Regions from separate parts of the Homo sapiens genome. Here all the other regions are linked to region 2. Evidence: promoter capture Hi-C in 16 types of primary human blood cells and fetal thymus (Javierre and others, 2016). All regions are on one chromosome and are shown on one strand. The core of a region is centred on a gene start or on the middle of the fragment in contact, and the rest is flanking DNA. Distances in the headings are between cores, read along the strand shown.

The links. Contacts are between HindIII fragments. The CHiCAGO score rates a contact against its expected background, and 5 or more counts as called.
Region 1: a contact is called between a fragment that was not itself captured here and the fragment with the promoter of ACTG2 in region 2, in 2 of 17 cell types (activated CD4 T cells and naive CD8 T cells). The highest score is 5.4, in activated CD4 T cells.
Region 3: a contact is called between a fragment that was not itself captured here and the fragment with the promoter of ACTG2 in region 2, in 2 of 17 cell types (activated CD4 T cells and monocytes). The highest score is 7.0, in activated CD4 T cells.

The regions. Positions count from the first base shown.
Region 1 is chr2:73,989,745-73,992,914 of GRCh38, forward strand. The region is part of intron 2 of TET3 (tet methylcytosine dioxygenase 3); the gene reads left to right. Among named protein-coding and RNA genes, the nearest start is that of TET3, 6.4 kb to the left of the region's middle. The HindIII fragment of the contact is 5,630 bases long and covers 1-3,170 here.
Region 2 is chr2:73,891,240-73,894,741 of GRCh38, forward strand. It overlaps ACTG2 (actin gamma 2, smooth muscle), which reads left to right and starts at 1,769. Exons shown (of 9, transcript NM_001615.4): 1 at 1,769-1,812. RefSeq lists an enhancer at 845-1,658. The HindIII fragment of the contact is 3,877 bases long and covers 1-3,490 here.
Region 3 is chr2:74,017,357-74,020,910 of GRCh38, forward strand. The region is part of intron 3 of TET3 (tet methylcytosine dioxygenase 3); the gene reads left to right. Among named protein-coding and RNA genes, the nearest start is that of TET3, 34 kb to the left of the region's middle. The HindIII fragment of the contact is 1,716 bases long and covers 1,425-3,140 here.

The DNA of each region.
Region 1 (3,170 bases), core at 108-2,607, 98 kb after region 2:
CATATTCTTTTTACCTGAGTGGTGGCTTGGTAGTACAATGAAGATGACTGAGTAGAAAAGTAGGGTTTGGTGAGTAAGGAAGCACAGTGGATAGGGCTGAGAACCCAGAGTAAGTGCTGTGCCCTTACTCTCTTGGGCAACCAGTGCTCCATCCCTTCTGTGTCCATTTTCTCAATTGTAAGATGGGAGTAACCCTGCTTTGTAGGGTTGTCATGAGGATTAAATGAGATAAAATATGCATAATGTCTGGCACATAGTAGGTAATCAATGCATGATGACAAAACATTCCTAAACATCTAGAAAATGATGAATCTTTATGCATAAACAACTGTGCATTAGTCTTCGAGCTGTAAAGATGCAATACAAGGGCTAGGTATGGTGGCTTACTCCTGTAATCCCAGAGCTTTGGGAGGCTGAGGCAGGATGATCACTTGAGACCAGGCTGGGCAACATAGCAAGACCCCATTGCTAAAAAAAAAAAAAAATTAGCCAGGCATGGTGGCATGTGCCTGTAGTCCTAGCTCCTGGAAAGACTGAGGTGGGAGAATCGCCTGAGCCCACAGTGGGCAATATTTGAGCCACTGCACTCCAGCCTGCATACAACTCCAGATGCAATACAAATTAAGCGTTTATCTCAAGGCATTCACCTCACTTGCTCATAGAAGAACCGTGGGGCAGAACAGTAGAGCCAGGCAGAGGGAGGGAGGAGTTTGCCAGCCTCTGTGCTGGGGGAGGAGGCTAGACACCAAGGAGTCACTATGGTCCTAGGCCTGACTGAAAAGTTGACCATGGATGAGGGAAGTAAATAACTATTAGAGTAGGAGAATGACCCTTAAAAAAATGCATAGAAAAATGTATGCATAAGTTTGGAAGCATGACTGAGAATATTATGGGTGAAAATGAGAGAAATGGAAAGATATATGTGATGAGAATACTTTCTAGCCCTCAGCCAACTGGATTTACATCTTGAAACAGATCTCTGCCAGATTTGAGTCAAGATACCTTGGAATTGGGAATCTTTCAACAATATCAGAACACCTGATGAATCCTTGCCCATCCTGCTGGTAGTTCTATCTTCCTGAAGATGGAGGCTGTGGAGAGGAATGTGTTCAGGCTGGTCTCAGCATCAAAGGGAGAATTGACTAGAGAAGTGGAAGTGATGAGAATCTTTAGAGAAAGGGACCGCATCTGAGCATTTGTCAAGCCTGAAAGAAGGTTGGACAGGGAGGAGTGTTTGTATTTTTAGTAGAGATGGGGTTTCACCATGTTGGCCAGGCTGGTGTTGAACTCCTGACCTCAGGTGATCCACCCACCTTGGCCTCCCAAAGTGCTGGGATTACAGGCGTGAGTCACCGTGCCCGGCCCTTGGTGTTTTTTTAAATAGAGACAGGGTCTCGCTATTTTGCCCAGGCTGGTCTTGAACTGGTGAATTACAATTTTTATGGATAGTCTTTAGAATATCGTCTTTCAAATGCAAGCGGTTTTTAACTCCACGGCCACAGATTCTAAATGAAAATTAGCTGGAGGGATAGAATTGCTTGTTAAAAAGCAAACTCTGGCCGGGCACGGTGGCTCACGCTTGTAATCCCAGCACTTTGGGAGACCAAGGCAGGCAGATCACCTGAGGTCAGGAATTCGAGACCAGCCTGACCAACATGGAGAAACCCCATCTCTACTAAAAATACAAAATTAGCCAGGCGTGGTGGTGGGTGCCTGTAATCCCAGCTCCTGAGGATTGGACAGATGAGAAGTCCAGTTTTTGACTTAAAGTCATCTTAGAGGGAGGCCACTGATACGACTGCCCTGTTCAGTCTGTCAACCATGTAGATCAGGGGTTCCACATTGGGATCACCTGGGAAATGTAGCAAAACATGGTGCCTGGGCCCCACTCCCAAGGGATTCTGATTTAATTGATCCAGGGTGGACCAAACTGGTCTGGGGCTCCCAGGTGTACCTAGGCTGAGGCAGGAGAATCCCTTGAACCCAGGAGGCAGAGGTTGCAGTGAGCTGAAATTGCGCCATTGCACTCCAACCTGGGCAACAAGAGTGAAACTCTGTCTCAAAAAAAAAAAAAAAAAAAAAAAGAAGGAAACGCTGATAGAACAGTCATGAATGATAGCTTCAGGAGAAAGGTGTTGGTGGGACTGGGGAAGGACTGAGCCATCTGTGTGGCTGTATGGGCTGTTCTCTAGTGAGTGAGGGGGTAAAAGGCCAAGCACATTATGTGGAAAGTGGGGACATGGCACTGAAGCAGAGTCAGGAGTGTGGTCTGAGCCCCTAAGAGGAGCATCAGGGAGTCCAGTGGCCAGAATGTGCTAAGGCTGGTGGAAAATGCTGATAACAATGTCTTGTATATGGTTCTAGCAAGAGTGAGAGGGAAGAGGTAGGCTTACAACTTTCTAGGGATGGAGAGAGTGGACAGACACTGGGTCCCTGTGGTGTCAGAAGATATAACCTGGGGAAAACAGAGCCAGCCAGCTACCCTACCTGAGTCTGAGTCATTCACTTCCTACTGAACACCTGCAGATGTGATTGCAAAATCACAATCTTTTTTTCTTTTCTTTTTTTTTTTTGTTTTGTTTTGTTTGAGATGGAGTCTCGCTCTGTTACCCAGGCTGGACTGCAATGGCGTGATCTTAGCTCACTGCAACTTCCACCTCCCCGGTTCAAGCGATTCTCCTGCCTCAGCCTCCCGAGTAGCTGGGATTACAGGCATGTGCCATCACGCCTGGCTAATTTTTGTTTTTTTAGTAGAGAAGGGGGTTCACCATGTTCGCCAGGCTGGTGTTGAACTCCTGACCTCAGGTGATCTGCCCACCTTGGCCTCCGAAAGTGCTGGGATTACAGGCGTGAGCCACTGTGCCCGGCCCTTGTTGTTTTTTTAAATAGAGACAGAGTGTCGCTATTTTGCCCAGCCTGGTGAACTCATGGTGAATTACAATTTTTATGGAATTATGATGATTGAAAGAGGGCCAAAAAACCAGAGATGGGCTAAAAGTCCAATTTCTCAAAGAGATTTTGAAAATTGTAAATATATAATCTTAATGTCAGTTTTTGAGAGTTCTAGAACAGATTGTTTAAAAGGTGTTTTGTGAAACTTTAGAAAGGCAGGTGATAAACTTTGAGGGTGCTTGTGGTTCTTTTCAAAGCAGCTGAGGCAAATGAACAGA
Region 2 (3,502 bases), core at 519-3,018:
GTTTCTGTTTCAATAGGGCTAGGTGACACCTGAGAATCTGCATTGTGAGCACATTCCCATATCATGCTGCTGCTGCACTCTGGTGGTCCCCATGCTTTGGGAACCTCTGTGTTGAAGACGAAGCAGAGTCAGGAAGGCCAGTCAGGAAGCTGCGCCCCACTCCAGGCCAGATAGGACTGGAGCCTGAGGCAGCGCAGGCCAGCAGGGATTGAGGGAGGACACAGAGCTGAGGGGCATTTCTGGTCGGGGGAGCACCAGGCTGTGGTGCCCAGGTGGTTGTGGGAGCATGAGGGAGACACAGGGTTCTAGACTGACTGACTTCTAGCTTGAAGGGCCGAGGGGTGGACTTGGAAGTTGGCAACCCAGGAGGCACAGCAGCTTTGAGGGTAGGGAAGAAGGGTTCAGTTTTAGACAGGATGAGTTTGAAGAGCTGGAGAGTCATCTGGATTGGGATGTCCAATAGGCAATTGATCATTTTAGTCTGGATCAGGGTGAGGGAGGGGGACCATGAGAATGTGGAGTTGAAAGTAATACTGCAGAGCTGGTAGCTGATAATGTGGGAAATGAACCAGCTACCTAGGGATAGTACATGAATTACACAAAGAAGAGCAATCATCAGCCAGCCATGGTGGCTCACACCTGTAATCCCAGCACTTTGGGAGACCAAGGTGGAGGGATTGCTTGAATCCAGGAGTTCAAGATCGAGACCCTGTCTAATTAAAAACAAAACAAACAAACAAAAAGAAGTCCAGGCGTAGTGGCTCACACCTGTAGGCCAAGGCAGGTGGATCACGAGGTCAGGAGCTCGAGACCAGCCTGGCCAACATGGTGAAACCCTGTCTCTACTAAAAATACAAAAATTAGCTGGGCATGGTGGCAGGTGCCTGTAATCTCAGCTACTCAGGAGGCTAAGGCAGGAGAATTGTTTGAACCTGGGAGGCGGAGGTTGCAGTGAGCCGAGATTGCACCAATGCACTCCAGCCTGGGGGATAGGGCGAGACTCTATCTCAAAAAAGAAAAAGAAGCAGCTCAAGAATCACAGGACTGTGGAAAATCCTACAGGCCAAGAGTCTTGTTAGGTGTGCCTCAACCCTGAAGCAGGTCCCTCAGTCTGCAGATATTTAGAGATATTTAAAGGAAAACCAGGAAGGAGCCAAGAGAGAATGAAGCCTAAGGTGTCCTGAGACCCTCAGAGAACTCAGCCCAAGGGTTAGGAGCTTGTGTCAAGGTGCAGCAGGTGAGTAGGGCACGCAGGATTTCTTTCCTGGGTACGGAAGGCATTTCTCTTCAGCTTTCATTGGTCCCAGGCTCGTGCCAGACAAGGCATGATTGCACCCATTTTGGGGACAGTGCCTGGGCGTCCCAGGCAGACCCAGGGGCCGCATGCAGCAGGGCCTGAGGAGGGAGGTGTGGACGGAGGAGGCCCGCTGCCATTCTTGGTATGGTTCTCACTCCAGGAGCACAGCTGCATCTGGTCTCACTCTGGGCAGCTTATAAGGCCTGGTGTGAGTTTTGTTTATGCAAGTGCAGCATAAAAGGAACAAATCTACCAGCACCGGGGCTGTTGCCACTGAGTCCTTTTGCATACATTTTTCAAATGATAACTCACTCTACCCACCCCCCTTCCCTACCCCCAAGGCGATTTATTGAAAAAACCACCTTATATGGTAATATTGCTAACACACCGTCAGCTGGCCTTTTTAGGGACTTTGTTTAAAGAAGATCCGCCTCTGGGGTTTTATATTGCTCTGGTATTCATGCCAAAGACACACCAGCCCTCAGTCACTGGGAGAAGAACCTCTCATACCCTCGGTAAGTACTGTACGGCTTTTGCCACCTCTTCCTTTCCGGGGCTGCCTGGCCTCCTGGGTGCGGGAGGTGCCTCCAGATTGGCCTGGCTTCTGTGACGCTGGCCCAGATCACACACCAGAGCCCTTGGTGGGCAGCGGCACCTGCAAGCATACTGCAGCCTGCTGAGAAAAGGCGTATCTGGCCATGGGACATCCTGGGGCAGGGGCAGCTTGGAACCGTGCTCCCTGCCTCAGAATGGGGACTGGCGGGATATAATGCCTGCAGTCTCTACTAGCCCTGCTCCCCAGGGCCAGTGCAGATCCACACCCTGATGTCCTTTGTCTTGGGTTAGAATGTCTGGGAGGCTGTTTTAGGGGATCATATACTTTGCAGAAAAGCAGCTTTTCAGAATACTTGAGTCAAAGCCAACAGTGGTCCTGGTGTCTGTGAGCTGTTTAGTCCATGAAATGTCTGTGCTGGGAATGGGAGGGTATTTTCTTCAGGTCCCCTGTGGGTCTCTCTGTCCTCTGATCTGTGCTTGGCTGAGGAGAATGGAGGGTTTCTGCAGTCCTTGAAGGCTCTAGGATCATTGGGGGATGGAGAAAATTCCACTTGCCCTGTGGCATCGTGAGGTTTCAGGGTAGAAGGAACTTGGGACCCATCTAGTTCATTCTCCTCTGATGAGGACATTGAGGCCTAGAGACGTACAGCCACTCATCCAAAAGACTCACACCCAACTGTGACCCATTTGCAGATGTCATTACTCCCCCCAACCCACCCAACACACACACAACACATGCACAAAGAATTAAGAGGAAGATGAGATGAAGGGGCCACTTCTATGTTTGGCATCAGAATTCACTAGCATCTCTTCACAGGTGAGGCAGGCTGGGTGTGGCAGTGCAGGCCTTGAAGGCAGACTGTCAGGCTAACCAAGTTACTGAGCGACCTCAGCTTCCTCACCTGTAAAATGGGGGCAAGAATAATAATATCTACTTGGCGATGGTGTGAGGATTAAACGAGAGAATGCGTATATACAGCACTCAGCTCAAGGCTGTCAGGGCCCGGCCCTGAGTTCTCAAACTTTAAGAATCACCTGGAGTGCTTGTTAAAACACAGATTGCCCCATGCCCCACCCCAGATTCTGATTCCAGTAGGCCGAGATATGGCCTGATACTTGGAATTCCTAACAAGCTCCCAGGCGACACTGAAGCTGCTGGTCTGGGACCACACTTTGTACAGGGAGGCTCTAAGTGCTCACTTTGATTACTTGAATGTGGGTTTGGACTCTGATACTAACCCTTGGGCTGAAAAGAGGAAGAGCTTCCTGTGACAGAGAGGGATGGGTGCTGGAGAAACTGCAATGAACAGTAAGATCCTACATGCCAGGCCTGAGAAAAGGGGATGGGCCGTGTGACATCATGACCTTGGGGCGAGATATCTTTCCTCTTTCCCCTTGTTCATTCTGCCAACATTTATTGAGCACTTATTATGGGCCAGGCACTGTCTCTGCTCCTTAGGGACAGTGGAGAGGCTTCTGCAGTTACTGGAAGAGACAGATAAACAGATGAGAACCATGGAGCAAATAAGTACACGAAAGGGGTAAAGGCCAGGAGGAGCCCATCACTCAACCCAGGAGTTATCAGGGAAGACTTCCTGGAGGAAGAGGTGCCTGAGCTTGGTCCTGAAGTAAGGACCAAGCTTGGTCCTT
Region 3 (3,554 bases), core at 1,033-3,532, 130 kb after region 2:
TTAATGTGTTAACCAACCTTTGGGTATTTCCCCTGCACCCCTGCCCTCCCCAGCCTCTGATAACCACTGTTCTTCTCTCTGTTTCTATGAGATCAACTTTTTTTAGCTTCCACATTTGAGTGAGAACATGTGGTATTTATCTTTCTGTCCCTGGCTTATTTCACTTAACATATCCTCCAAGCTCATCCATGTTGCCACAAATGACAGTATTTTGTTGTTGTTGTTTTTTTAATTGCTAACTAGTATTCCATTATGTGCACGTACCACGTGTTCTTTATCCATTGACTGATACTTCGGTCGATTCCATATCTTGGATGTTGTCAATACTGCCGCAGTAAACATGGGAGTACAGACATCTCTTTGACACACCTATTTCAATTCTTTTGGACGTATATCCAGAAGTGAGATTGCTGGATCATACGGTAGTTCTAGTTTTAGTTTTTTTGAGAAACCTCCATGCTGTTTTCCGTAATGGCTGTACTAATTTACATTCCCACCAACAGTCTGTAAGAGTTCCCCTTTCTCCGCATCCTCACCATCATTTATTTTTTGTCTTTTTCTTAACAGCCTTTTTAACTGGGATAAGATGAAACCTCTTCTGTCTCTTTTTTTTTTTTTTTTTTTTTTTGAGACGGAGTTTTGCTCTTGTCGCCCAGGCTGCAGTGCAGTAGCACAATCTCGGCTCACTGCAACCTCCTCCTCCCGGATTCAAGCAATTCTCCTGCCTCAGCCTCCCGAGTAGCTGGGATTACAGGCATGTGCCACCGTGCCCGACTAATTTTGTATTTTTAGTAGAGACGGGGCTTCTCCATGTTTGTCAGGCTGTTTTCGAACTCGCGCCCTCAAGTGATCGGCCTGCCTTGGCCTCCCAGAGTGCTGGGATTACAGGTGTGAGCCACCGTGCCTGGCCTTCTTCTGTCATCTTAAGTGAGAAAACATAGTATAGCTTTCATCGTTATGAGGGTTTTGATACTAACTTCTGTTACGTTTTGAAAAAAATTTTGGCCTGTTTGTCTTTCATTGTGTCTATCATAAAAATTTGATTTTTATACAACGAGAATTCATCAGTATTTTGGCTTTTCTTACTTAAGTTTTATTTTAGATGTTCAGATTTCTAAGGTGAGATTTATTTTTGCATGCGATATAAGATAGGGATTGAACTTTTCCTAAATAGAAAGCCTGTTATCCCCAATCTATTTATTGGGTATTTGTAGTTTCCCTTGTAGTGTATGAATTCTACCTTAAGCATTTCATAAGTACTCTTACAGTCATGGGTGTTTTAAGGCCTCTTTTTACTTCCATTGACTTATTTGTCTGATTCTGTGTATTTCATTGTTTTAATTACCACCATTTTTATATAATACTTTGGTTTAAAACATACTTCTTACTTTTTTTTTTTTTTTTGGCATTTCTTTCTCCAAATAAGCTTATAAACAACTTACCATGTTCTGCGAAAAATACTGGGATTTTTCAGTTGGAATCACATGAAACGTACAGGTTATTTTGGGGAGAATAGATAGCTTTACAATGAATCTTCCTATCCAGAGAAAGGGAAGTAGACCTTTCCGTTTATTCTAGTCTTTTTTGTGTGTTCATCAAAGTTTTAAGGCCAGGTGTGGTGGCTCATGCCCCATAATGCCAGTGCTTTGGGAGGCTGAGGCGGGAAGACTGCCTGAAGCCAGGAGTTTGAGATCAGCCAGGGTAACATAGTGAGACCCCCCGCCAACCCTCATCTCTACAAAAAATAAAAACTAGCTGGGTGTGGTGGCGCATGCCTGTAGTCCCAGCTACTTGGGAGGCAGATGTGGGAGGATCGCTGTAGCCCAGGAGTTGGAGGCTGCGGTGAGCTATGATCTGGCCACTGCACTCCAGTCTGGGCGACAGAAGGAGACTCTGTCTCTAATAAAAACCAAACAAACAAAATAAATGAAACGTTTTAAGGTTTTCTTCTTACACATTTCTTGTGAAGTTTCTTCCTAGATATGCTGTAGCTGCTGTTGTTGCTGTTGGGAATGGGATCTTTTCTGTTATACTTTGTATCCCATCTTTGCCCGCATATTAGAAATGCAGCTGCTCTGTGCTGCCTCTTCTGACACTTCTGTCCCTTTCTCCCTCAAGTCCTCATGGTATATTGTCTGTACCTCCGTGGCAATACTGTGTGCCTGAGTGTGAGTTCCCAGTGGTGGGGTGCTCATCTCACTCCATTTCATGTCACCAGTACCTGGCACAAAGCCTAGCATGCGGTAAATCCTTTTAATAAACGCCGTGGCATCAGATTGATGAGAGGGACAGTGAGCTTCACCTCTTCAAAGTGTGACAGCCTGGGCCAATGTGAGCAGCAGAATCTCAAGCAGCCCTGGCTCCAGGCCCTGCAGGCTGTGATCTGGATAACAGATTGGGCACCCTCCTTGTCCCCGCAGGAAAAAGGAGGTCCTGGGCCATTTTTCCACGTGCAGACATCAGGGAGGAGCCCTCTGAGCCTCTATCTCATTATTATCCTGAGACCCACAGCCCCCTTGTTGTTAGCCCTCATTAGTGCTAACTAGTTGGGAGAACTGCTTTCTTAGCTTCCAATCATTTCAAGGTAGCACAAACAAACTTATCTGCAGCTTCCCTTAGGGGATGAGGACTCATCAAGGCTGGAAGCAGAGCTTGTACAGAACATTGTGAGATGGGTTCACACCTATGTGCCCAGTCACCTTCTCTCATATGGTAGTGCCTTTCTTTTTTCTTCTACTATTCTCCTCCAGAGTATATGCATCCCCCCAACCCAGTATGTCCTACGTGAAGTTTATTCCTATCCGTGTGCTAATCTTTACCATAGCGTTTGCATTTGTTTTTCCCTTGAGACAGAGTCTCACTCTGTCACCAAACCTGGAATGCAGTGGCATGATCTTAGCTTACTGCAATCTCTGCCTCTGGGTTCAAGTGATCCTCCCACCTCAGCCTCCCTAGTAGTTGGGACTACAGGTGCATACCACCACACCCAGCTATTCTTTGTATTTTTTTAGAGATGGGGTTTCACCATATTGCCCAGGCTGGTCTTGATTTCTGGGGCATAAGTGGTCTGCCTGCCCAAAGTGTTGGGATTACAGGCATGAGCCACAGTGCCCAGGCTTGGTGTTTGCATTTTATATGTAAGCTTTTGTTTGTAATTGGGGAATGGCAGGCACTATTCCTTGATGGAGCTGTCTGGGGCATGCCAATTCACTCTGTACCCTTGGCAGTGGTTCCAGACTCTCAGGTCCCTGCCCCCACTGGTCTCTGCTGCCCCTGGAGCAAGGATGGTGATGTCTACCTGCCTTGGAGGGACCCAGGAACAAGGGAACTCCCACCTCTTGTTCAAGGGCTTGAGGGCTATGCCCTTGGAGAGAAGGGAATCCCTGCTGTTGTTAAGCAGGGGTCAGGATTTCTGCCTCTCAACATGCATAAAAAGAAGGTGGGAGTGAGGACGTGAGCTGATTTCTAATCCCTCTCTAGCAGTTGTGCATCTGGTTCAGCGTGTCCCGGGGTTTCCCTGGGTTTTGCTTGACCGCAGCAGTAAGCTGTTCCTC